Regions from separate parts of the Homo sapiens genome. Here region 2 is linked to region 1. Evidence: promoter capture Hi-C in 16 types of primary human blood cells and fetal thymus (Javierre and others, 2016). All regions are on one chromosome and are shown on one strand. Each heading gives the region's core, a stretch centred on a gene start or on the middle of the fragment in contact. The rest is flanking DNA. Distances are from core to core; before and after follow the strand shown.

Region 1 (5,134 bases), core at 1,537-4,036:
TCTTAAAAAAAAAAAAAAAAAGAAAAGAAAATCCCAACACTTTGGGAGGCTGAAAGGTAGGAGGATCACTTGAAGCCAGGAATTTGAGACCAGCCTGGGCAACACAGTGAGACCTCATCTCTACAAGAAATATTTTTAAAAGAAATGAGACTGTAGAAGTGAAAGCATTTTTTAAGTGCATACAAATGAAAGGCATTAATACTTTCAGCATAGGTGGCTTAGAATTAAGATAGAACAAGCTCTCAAATTCTTGCAGAATAAAATGTAACCACAAAGCTACCTGAAGTGTCTACAGTGTAATTCGAGAAAGCATACAAGAATGAAAACACTCAAGAAACCATATAAAAATATGGTTATTAAAAAAAAAATCCGAGCGCGGTAGCTCACACCTGTAATGCCAGCACTTCGGGAGGCTGAGGCAGGTGGATCACTTGAGGTCAGAAGTTCGAGACCAGCCTGTCCAACATGGTGAAACCCTGTCTCTACTAAAAATACAAAAATTAGCCAGGTGTGGTGGCAGGTACCTGTAATCCCAGCTACTTGGGAGGCTGAGGCCTGAGAATCTCTTGGGCCCGGGAGGCGGATGTTGCAGTGAGCCGAGATAGTGCCACTGCACTCCAGCCTGAGCAACAGAGTGAGACTCCATCTCGAAAACAAAAAACAAAACACCATGTGTACATACTTATGTTAACCTCAAAGTTACCACTGTCTAAGAAACTTAATGTTCCAGGCCATATCCATGTCTCCTAATTGGTTTGAATAAAGGTTGCAGCTAATGAAACTGAGGTTGCTTACGCCACCCAGTATTTGCCACACACTGCAGTCCTTATTAGCAACACAGCCTTCATTTACTTCTGCAAAGAACTTTACAGCTTTTGTTTTAAGACAGGGTCTCACTCTGTTGCTCAGGCTGGAGTGCAGTGGCATAATCACAGCTCACTGAGGCCTCAACCTCACAGACTCGAGATCATCCCACCTCAGCCTCCTGAGTAGCTGGGACTACAGGTGCATGCCACCACGCCCATCTAATTTTTGTATTTTTTGTAAAGACAAGGTTTCACCATGTTGCCCAGGCTGGTCTTCAACTCCTGAGCTCAAGCAATCCTCCTGCCTTGGCCTCCCAAAGTGCTGGGATGACAGGCATGAGCCACCGCGTCCAGCCAACTTTACAGTTTTAACAAAAAGGCTCTCTCACATCTGTTAAATTATTTGACACTAAAAACAACGAGGTAAATGCACAGGAAGCAAGACTGAGGGTTAAGTGATTTCCTCACTGTCACACGGCAAGTAAATGACCCAGCTTGACCTTACAGGTAAGCCACCTGACTCGTAGTCCAGTGTGTTTTCCGTTATAACTTGTTTTCGTTTTATGAAGCCTATCTGAGTAGTAAGATATTATCAAAGGCTGAAAAAAAACCAACATTGTGGATAAAACAATAAACTCAGTTATTTATGTAGTGAAACAGAAAAAAAAAATCCCTAGGTAAACTTAGAATGGCTAACATTTACTAAGCACATATCACGTGCAAGGCACTCTTCAACATGCTTTCCATAGGTTATCTCATTTCATTCCTACATTGACTATTTTAAAAATACTTATTACCCTAATAAAAATAGCTACATTTATTAAGTACTTGTAGTGTGCCAGGCACTTAAGAGGCATGATTTCATCTAATCTTCCTAATGACCCTGTGAGGTTGCACTATGATTCTCATTTAAGATGAAGAAACTGATACAGAAGTCATCGGATTTATCCCGAAGGCAGGCATCTAGCAAGTGACAAGGCCCAAACTCAAGCCCCATTCTGCTTGGTTCTTTCTTCTGCCCTCCATGTGCCTCTCTAAGATAAGGGGTAGGGTAGATTCGGGACTTGTGTGAAGTAGGGTTGATTGGCTCAAGAGTGAGACAGAGAGATACTGAGCCACTTGACTTAAGAGGTTCAGCTCCTGGGGTTGAAAGAATCTTCAGATACCATTTGGACTAACTGGCCTGTATCATACCTGACAGATGACAAAAATTAGGGCCAAGAAGGGAAGTGACTTGTCCAAGATCACATAAACAGAAGATGCAGCCAACATGTATTAAATGCATACTAAGAGCCGGGTACTGTGTTAAGTACGTTTATTTGAATGATCCCAATCAATCCCTGCTTATGAGCTAAGTACGACATATTATTACCCCCATTTTACTAGTGAGGAACTCAGGCTCTGCAGGTGAAGTCACTTGTCCTGGGTCACGGAGCAATCCAAGCCTAACTCCAGATTTCTCTTCTTAGCTATGCCATATGGACTCTCGGAACTCAGTGGGACTCAAAGTTTGAGGAAGGTGTTTGATGAAGGAAATGAACCCCTTGCCTGAAAAATATCAGATTCTCGAGCACGAAATACCAGTCCCTCACCCCCGCCACCTGATCTAATTCACTCCTACTGCCATATGGGAAATAGAATGCTCAGAAGGAAAGCGGCTTGTCTGCAGTCACCCGGCCTAGACTCTAAAGGCAGGCTCCTATCTCCGGGCCAGGGTCCCCCCTCATCAATGCCACCGTCTCCGGTCGACCCCCCCACCCCCTCCATTGCGGGGTCCACCTCGGGACTGGGTCGGCCCTGGGGCAGGCTCTCAAGGGCCCAAGGGCTGCCATCCCGCGAATCCCGGCTGCAGTACAAGCTGGAACCTGAAGGGCAGAGAGTACCTGCAGGAGGAGACCGGAGGAGGCCAGCCGGGCCGCGTGGCCCAGCACCTCCTGGCTGCCCATAGCCTCCGCGCCAGGCTCAGACACCAGGAAATGCCGCCGCCACTCCGTTTAGTCGCGATAAGATGGCGTCACGGCGCGCCTCGCTGTCTGATTGATGGCCTTGAGAGAGGGGGGCGGGGCACGAGAAGTTCTGGTCCTTTAAGTGGGCCTGTCTCGGGCCGTCTGTTATGGCGCCTGGCTCTTTCTATTTCGGTAGGTTTTGCGCTGTCTGTCGCTTGTGCGCTGTCTGTCCCTCTCTTCCCCGTATAAACGAAATAGTGTGGCGAGTACTAAGAGATACCGTTAAAGAATCCAAAGTTCCTTCTCTGAGGCTTTCAGCCACCAACCAAGAAGCACTAACTTTCCTGGCCTCATCTGCCAAAAGGGGAACAAACTTCTCACTGGCCCGTTAAGAAGATTCTCACCATTGACCTTTGCTTACAGAATCACAGCCACAGACCCTCTGAATTAGGCTGGACAGGAATTGTCCTCATTTAACAGAGAAAGAACTGAGGACCAGAAGTTAGATATAGCACTGTTATGTGTATGGTTTTGTGAAATCCTTCCGAAAGCTCTGAGAATTGGCCCCTGTGGTTAGAGATGAGTAAAGCCTTGGAGATGGGAAGTGACTTGTTCGAATCTACACAACTTGTTTCCTGACTAAGTGGATACCAGGCTCCTGATCCTAAACTTATCACTCTTGCCTGTATGCTAGAAATTGTGAGGGCAGAGTGGAAGAAGGACTGGAAGTGCTTTGTAAAAAAATGTAAAGCGCCCAACATACACAATCAGCTGCTGTTCTGTCAGTGTTCTTATTATCTACCAAGCAGGCTGTAGGAAGCCCAGTCTTTCCCCAATCTCTTTCAGTCCTCACATGATTTGGCCCCAACCTATCTTCTACTACCTTTCACACGATCATTGCCCTTCCCAACACTATCTAGGCCATAGCCATTCCGAGTCCTTACTGGTCCTCAAACAGGCGGTGACTCACTGGCCTTTGCTCCTCCACCCTCTTTGTCCAAAGTGTCTTCCCTGACAGCACCCCTTGCCCTCCTAGACCACACTGTCCTGACTTTCCTGGCCAACCACAGCTGGTACCTGCTGTGGACTAAATGTTTGTGTACCCTCAAAATTCATATGTTGAAGCCTAATCCCCAGTGTGATAGTATTAGGAGGTAAGGCCTTTGGGAAGTAATTAGGTCCTGAAAGTGGAGCCGTCATAATGGGATTCATGTCCTTATAAAAAGAGATGTCAGAAAAATGATCTCTGTGTTTACTATTTGAGGATACAGCAAGAATGTAGCTGTCTGCAACCACGAAGAAGGCTTTGTAAAATGTAAGGCGCCCAACATACACTTAACAGGAACCAAACTGGCTAGCACCTTGATCTTGGGCTTCCAGCCTCCAGAGCTGTGAGAGAAATTTCTGTTTTTGACTTACCCAGTCTATGGTATTTTGTTACAGCAGCCCAAGCAAATCAAGACAGTACCCCTAAAATACTCTGTACCCCTTTATAGTTCCTAATGCAATCTGCATTATAGCAGAAAGACTAGAATATGTGTCTCTATATAATCAGCCCATGAGCTCCAAGAGGGCAGAAGTGCAGCCTGCCTGGTTTTGCTTCCTGAAGTAGCGGTACAGAACATTCTTAGGGCTCCTATAAATGTCTCCTGACACATGACTGCTGCTACTGCTGCTGGAAACAGACTGTGGAACTCAAAGCCTATCACTCCCATCTTCCCAGGTGAAATGAGCTCTGTCTTAGTGTGGAGGCCCAGAATGTGAGCTTTTCTTTTTCTTTTCTTTTCTTTTCTTTTCTTTTCTTTTTTTTTTTTGAGACAGGGTCTCGCTCTGTCTCCCAGGCTAGGGTGCAGTGGTACAGTCTTGGTTCACTGCCGCTTCCACCTCCTGGCCTCAGGTAATCCTCCCACCTCAGCCTTCCGATTAGCTGGGACTACAGGCGTGCAGCACCAGACCTGGCTGATTTTTTCTGTGATTTTTGTAGAGATGGGTTTTTCCCACGTTGCTCAGGCTGGTCTCCAACTCCTGGACTCAAGTGATCCGCCCACCTCAGCTTCTCAAAGTGCCGAGATTACAGGCATGAGCCACCGCACTGCACCCTGCCCAAGAATGTGAGCTTTTGTCTGTCAGAGAGAACTGACCTTGAATCCTCATTCTGCCACTCACTGACTGGGTGACCTCAGTATGCTCAGCTACTAAATAGGGATATTATCTGTCCTGTAAAAATAGTCATAAGGATTGTTTCAGGCAAGTCTGGCCCTCAGAGAGCTTAAATTCTAGTGAAAGGGAAACTGAAAAAAACTCTAACAAACAAATAAAATTTCACATAGGGCTAAGTGCTACGAAAGAATGAAACCAGGTAAGATCCTAGAGGCTTTGGAA
Region 2 (5,134 bases), core at 990-3,489, 280 kb before region 1:
GCGGGCCTGTGTGTGGGACTGCTGGTGTCTTCCATTAGAAGGAGCAGACATTCAGCCCTCTCTCTGTGTCTAGTGTCTCCTGCCTCCTGCCACCTTCCCTGCCATAAGGTGAGGGCCTTGGTGGTAAAGCAGGCACCCACACCCACAGGAGGGTGTGCTCAAACCCAGAACAGCCCCCTCTACCACACAGAGAAGACAATGGCAGCTCCCCAGCCATTTCTGGATCTGTTTGCCTGGTGGGCCGCATGGGGCAAGGAGCAGAGACCTCCAGCAGTTCCCTCACGCCCTGTCCGGCATCCACAGCATATTACCATATTCGCCGAAGCGCAGGGACTCCCACTGCTGCCACTCTACCAGGACGCTGACGGCGCGCACCCCCACGTAGATGAGCAGCATGCCCACAGTGGCGTCCAGGAGGAAGTTGATGAGGTACCTGTGAGGACAGGGCACATGCATGGTCACGGCAGAAGCCACGGGGCCAGAGGTCATGGCTGATGCAGGGTGGCCTGAGGGAAGCGGATGGACCCAGCATTTGTTTGGGCCCATTCTGGGGGCTGGGAGCCCTCATGTGCCAGTGTAGCTGTCACTACCATGTGCTGAAGCTCATCAGGAGTGCGACCACCTGAGGGAGGTGAGTGAGGGACAAAGACACTTTAAAACTGCCAGTGCTGGCTGCGCGCGGTGGCTCACGCCTCTAATCCCAGCACTTTGGGAGGCCGAGGCGGGTGGATCACGAGGTCAGGAGATAGACACCACCCTGGCTAACACGGTGAAACCTGTCTCTACTGAAAATACAAAAAAATTAGCTGGGCGTGGTGGCGCGCACCTGTAGTCCCAGCTACTCGGGGGGCTGAGGCAGGGGAATCACTTGAACCCGGGAGGTGGAGGTTGCAGTGAGCTGAGATTGCACCACTGCACTCCAGCGTGGTGACACAGCAAGACTCTGTCTCAAAAAAACAAAACAAAACAAAAACCTGCCAGTGCTTCTGCCAGGCGAAGGTTCAATGGAAGACAGAGTACCTGGAAGCAGCCAGGGAAATCAACAGGAAACAGAACTTAACTGATGACAGAAACACCTAGGCAATGATTCTGCTCACTCCCTGACAGTCCAGCCCAGGAGGCCCAGAACAGTGCTGCTGCACCAGAGAGGTTCAGGAAAACAGCCTCTCGGGTTTCGCAGACAAAGAGGACAGGGCAACATGGCCTTCGCCCATCCCCATCTGCAGTCAAGCATAAGTAATATTTTTACACTGTTTTTTTCTTTTTTTGAGATGGAGTCTCCCTCTATTGCCCATGCTGGAGTGCAGCGGTGCAATCAGCTCACTGCAGCTTCCGCCTCCTGGGTTCAAGTGATTCTCCTGCCTCAGCCTCCCAAGTAGCTGGGATTACAGGCACCCACCACCACACACAGCTAATTTTTGTATTTTTAGTAGAGACAGGGTTTCATCATGTTGGCCAGGCTGATCTTGAACTCCCGGCCTCAAGGGATATGCCCACCCTGGCCTCCCAAAGTGTTGGGATTACAGGCCTGAGCCACCGTGCCCGGCCTACACTTTAAAGAGCGAGCTTTACTCCCCATGGGAAAAGGCAAGATAACTGGGGGAGTGAGAGGAGGAGGCTCTGAAGGGCATACCACATGAACTGTGTTCTTGTACGGTCTGTTTCCATCCGACACAAAATTTTTTCTCTCACCAAAGAAAGGCCCTTTTCCACTCACCCTCTCTTGAGGGCCTTGTACCCAGATCCAGCTGAGCACTGCTGACCACAAGCTCCAGCTCTCCATGGTAGACAGAGTGGGAGACAAGGGCACTGGGTCCAGTACTGACCCTCTACGATACCATGTGGCTCTGAAATCCTTGCAGGTAAGCTGCAGGACACCACACACTCCAGGTGTGGTGAGCTTTCCAGTTGCTGAGGCTTGAGACATTTTGTGTAGTCTCACAGCCTCCTATCCTGGGCTGGAGCTTTGGTGATGTGCACACAGCACTCTGATGCCAGAGGGCGCAGCCTGTGCTAGGGTAGGTCAGCAGGAAAACCAGTGAAAAGAGGGAGGGGGCATTTCTCCTGCCTGCCCTTCCTCTGTAAAATCACAAGGGGTCACTCTTAGACCAGAGATGGCAGGAGCAGCAACTGCTTCCAAGGCAATTTCCCTCTGGCCTGAGGCTATGCTGCTCTCAGATACTTTGTGTCCAAAGCATCTCACGCCTGCGAGAACAAGGACATGTGATGTACATACAGACCTTACTTTCATTCATTCACTTAGCAAACATTTACAAGCCTACTGTGTGCCATGCCTTGGGAATAAAGAGAGAAAGTTCTATGTTCCATCCTCAACACAGATGATTCTGACAGACAGCAAAGCATCATGTGGGCCCTGGAAGCCAGACTGGCTGGGCTCCATGACTCCTGAGCGGTGTGAACTTACAGTATATATAACCTCTCTGTGCCTCAGTTCCACCACTGTAAAATGGGGATGATCAAAGTCTCCATTAATATATGGCAGGCTGCTATGAGGACAAAGGGAGGCAGAAGATGGGGCCAGGATGAGGTAGGCAAGCCTCCTCTGCCACTCCACCTGCTAAGAGAAGCACTATGTGGGTGCCATCAGCAAGGAGGACAGAATATCATGGCCGGATTGAGGTCACAGATGGATTGCTCTGGGGGCTGCATGGAAGGCACATTGCAATGATAAGGTGGAAGAGGTCAATGAGGGTCAACAACAGTTTTGACCCTGAATGGCTGACGCCACAGAGAAGCCCTGGTGTGTCCTGGTTCCAGAGCAGAGACACTCCTGTAGGGCATTATCCTTCCTTGCCAGGGGCGGCTTGGAAACTGGGAGACATAAGGACACTAGAAAATCAAAGGACAGAACTTGGATTGATGAACAGAAAGCCAGTGCATGGGGAAAGTGTCAACACGCAAAGCCCTACAAGCCAACTGATAGCTGTGTAAGTGAGCTCCAGGACAGCATGTACAGGATGGTCTCTCAGAGGAGCACAGAGGAAAAGGGGAGCACCCTCTCCCCAAGCCAGAGGGAGCAGGACCAGCAGCAGAAAGCAAGGCCAGCCTATATTTTCAATGGAGGGGCAGCTGATGTTTGCACTCAAATAGGGAACACTTACAGTGAACAAGGGTCCTCTTCAGTGAGATCTGCTAGGTATACATTTGCAAAGTGGATGAACAGCATTCCTATGGCTTGTTTGGAAGTGTCTAAAAACCTGTACAAAATAAACCAGCACTGGTTATTAGCCTGACAGGAGCGCAATATCCAATTTGAGGAAAACGAGAAGACTGAAACAGGAAGAAAGCCACCCCAACCTTCCAATCACTGGTTATCTCTTCCTGGGGCCTTGAGCACTAACTCAGGCTTGGCATCTCAGCCACCTTTCAAAGCCTTCAATAACACTGCCTTTGAAAACCCTAAAAGGTCAAGGATTGATATTTAAAATACGTTTTAAATTTTTTTCTTACTTCAAAATAAAATGCTCAATCGCTGCTTTGTGATGAAGCCCAAGGTGCCTCTATTTTAAAGAGCTCCCATTCAACTTCACTCACAATGAGCTAAATTATGTGTGAAATTAACAAGACGTGCACAAATCCAGTACTGCAGCTGGATCCCTAAAGAAATTTCAGCTGCTGCCATTTAAACAATGGGCTAGATCAGGGTAGGCAAATTTTTTCTGTAAAGGACCAAAGAATAAATATTTGAGGTTTTGTGCGCCATATGATCTCTGTCTCAATTCCTCAGCCCTGCCGCTAGAGAATGATGCAGTCATAGACACAGCTATTCCAATCATACACACCGGGCCTGAGGGCTGTAGTGTGCCAGCCCCTGGACTAGATGGTAAGCATTTCAAAAAAGAAAAAACAAGGGTGTTAATCTCTGAGAGGAGCTAACCCCGACCCATGTGACAGGAGCATGGTGGAGACAGCGTGTGCCTTCAGTATGTCCTCCACCACCAGCACCAGGTAGCCATTCTCCTCTGTGGTCGAGGCACCTCTTGGTCATGGCTGTCTCTCACAGCCGCCCAGCTGGGCAGGGTCTCAGGACTGCAGAGATTATCCAGACCAACCCAGCGACGGTGGCTGGAAAATCATTCCCTAGACTCACTGCAAAGGAGGAGTTACCAAAGGACAACGTATGTAAGACTCAAGAGAGCCCCAAAGCTAGGTCTCCCACCAGGTCCTGCCCCAGCCCTGAGGTGGGAGTCACACATTCTAAAGTTAACAGGGTTTGAGAAAAATCAACGGGGGGAAAATAAAAAGAATTATCAAATTCGCCAGCAACACGTTTAAGAACAAGTACACGCTTAATAATTTTATCACAGTGATTACTGACGTTTCCTCTGAAGGATAAAATGGCTATTTTGTTAGGAAATGTAGAAGCCCAAGGCAGCCTAAAACAGGCAGCTTCTTGTGGACACAGTGCTGTCTTGAAGAGCTGACTGTATCCTTCCAAGTGATGTATTATTTTGGAGTTTTGTCTTTAGAACCTACTTCTGAAGCTTTACCACCATTTCACGAAGGAAAAATTGTGACTGCAGGATCATAATCTGTGAAATAAATATATGCTTGATGTATATATCAAAGTCTATTTAAGAAATATATGTATTTGGTCTCTGTCCTGGTTTCTGACACAGAGCTCCTAAAACACTTGTAATCTCCTGAGTAACACAGGTGCTAAGAGGAGTTTTTGTTCTAGTATTTGGTCTCTGGCCTTGGTCCTGATACGAGCACCTAAACCTCATGGAATTTCCCGGAAGACAGGAGCCTTTTGCTCTAATGAAGGAAGTCTTAGTGGGCTCCTAGATAGCTTCAGGATGGGGCTAGTCACCAAAAGGACCAAGTCATGATCAGAAACTTAGAACTTTCAGCCCTAATCCCCCACCCTCCAGGGAGAAGGGAGGGGCTGGAGACTGAGTTAACAATCAATCATGCCTACATGATGAACCCTCCATAAAAATCCCTAAACAATGGGATTTGGAGCGCTTCCGGGCTGGTGAACACATCCATGTGCTGGGAAGGGGGCACACCCCAACTCCTGTGCTCAGGACACTTCTGGACCTCGCCCTATGCACCTCTTCATCTAGCGTTCATCTGTGTCCTTTATAATAAATCAGTAAATGTAAGTAAA

What was found. The method cuts DNA at HindIII sites, captures the fragments that hold promoters and counts their contacts. A CHiCAGO score of 5 or more calls a contact.
Region 2: a contact is called between a fragment that was not itself captured here and the fragment with the promoter of RFT1 in region 1, in 1 of 17 cell types (naive CD4 T cells). The highest score is 5.2, in naive CD4 T cells.

Annotation. Positions count from the first base shown.
Region 1 is chr3:53,127,649-53,132,782 of GRCh38, forward strand. It overlaps RFT1 (RFT1 glycolipid translocator homolog), which reads right to left and starts at 2,787. Exons shown (of 13, transcript NM_052859.4): 1 at 2,690-2,787. The coding sequence starts at 2,752. RefSeq lists enhancers at 2,643-2,832, 2,843-2,892, 2,933-3,132, 3,143-3,192. The HindIII fragment of the contact is 8,425 bases long and covers 1-5,134 here.
Region 2 is chr3:52,849,481-52,854,614 of GRCh38, forward strand. It overlaps STIMATE-MUSTN1 (STIMATE-MUSTN1 readthrough), which reads right to left. Exons shown (of 10, transcript NM_001198974.3): 3 at 3,123-3,218; 4 at 312-433. It overlaps STIMATE (STIM activating enhancer), which reads right to left. Exons shown (of 8, transcript NM_198563.5): 3 at 3,123-3,218; 4 at 312-433. Among named protein-coding and RNA genes, the nearest start is that of MIR8064, 5.5 kb to the left of the region's middle. The HindIII fragment of the contact is 4,527 bases long and covers 1-4,503 here.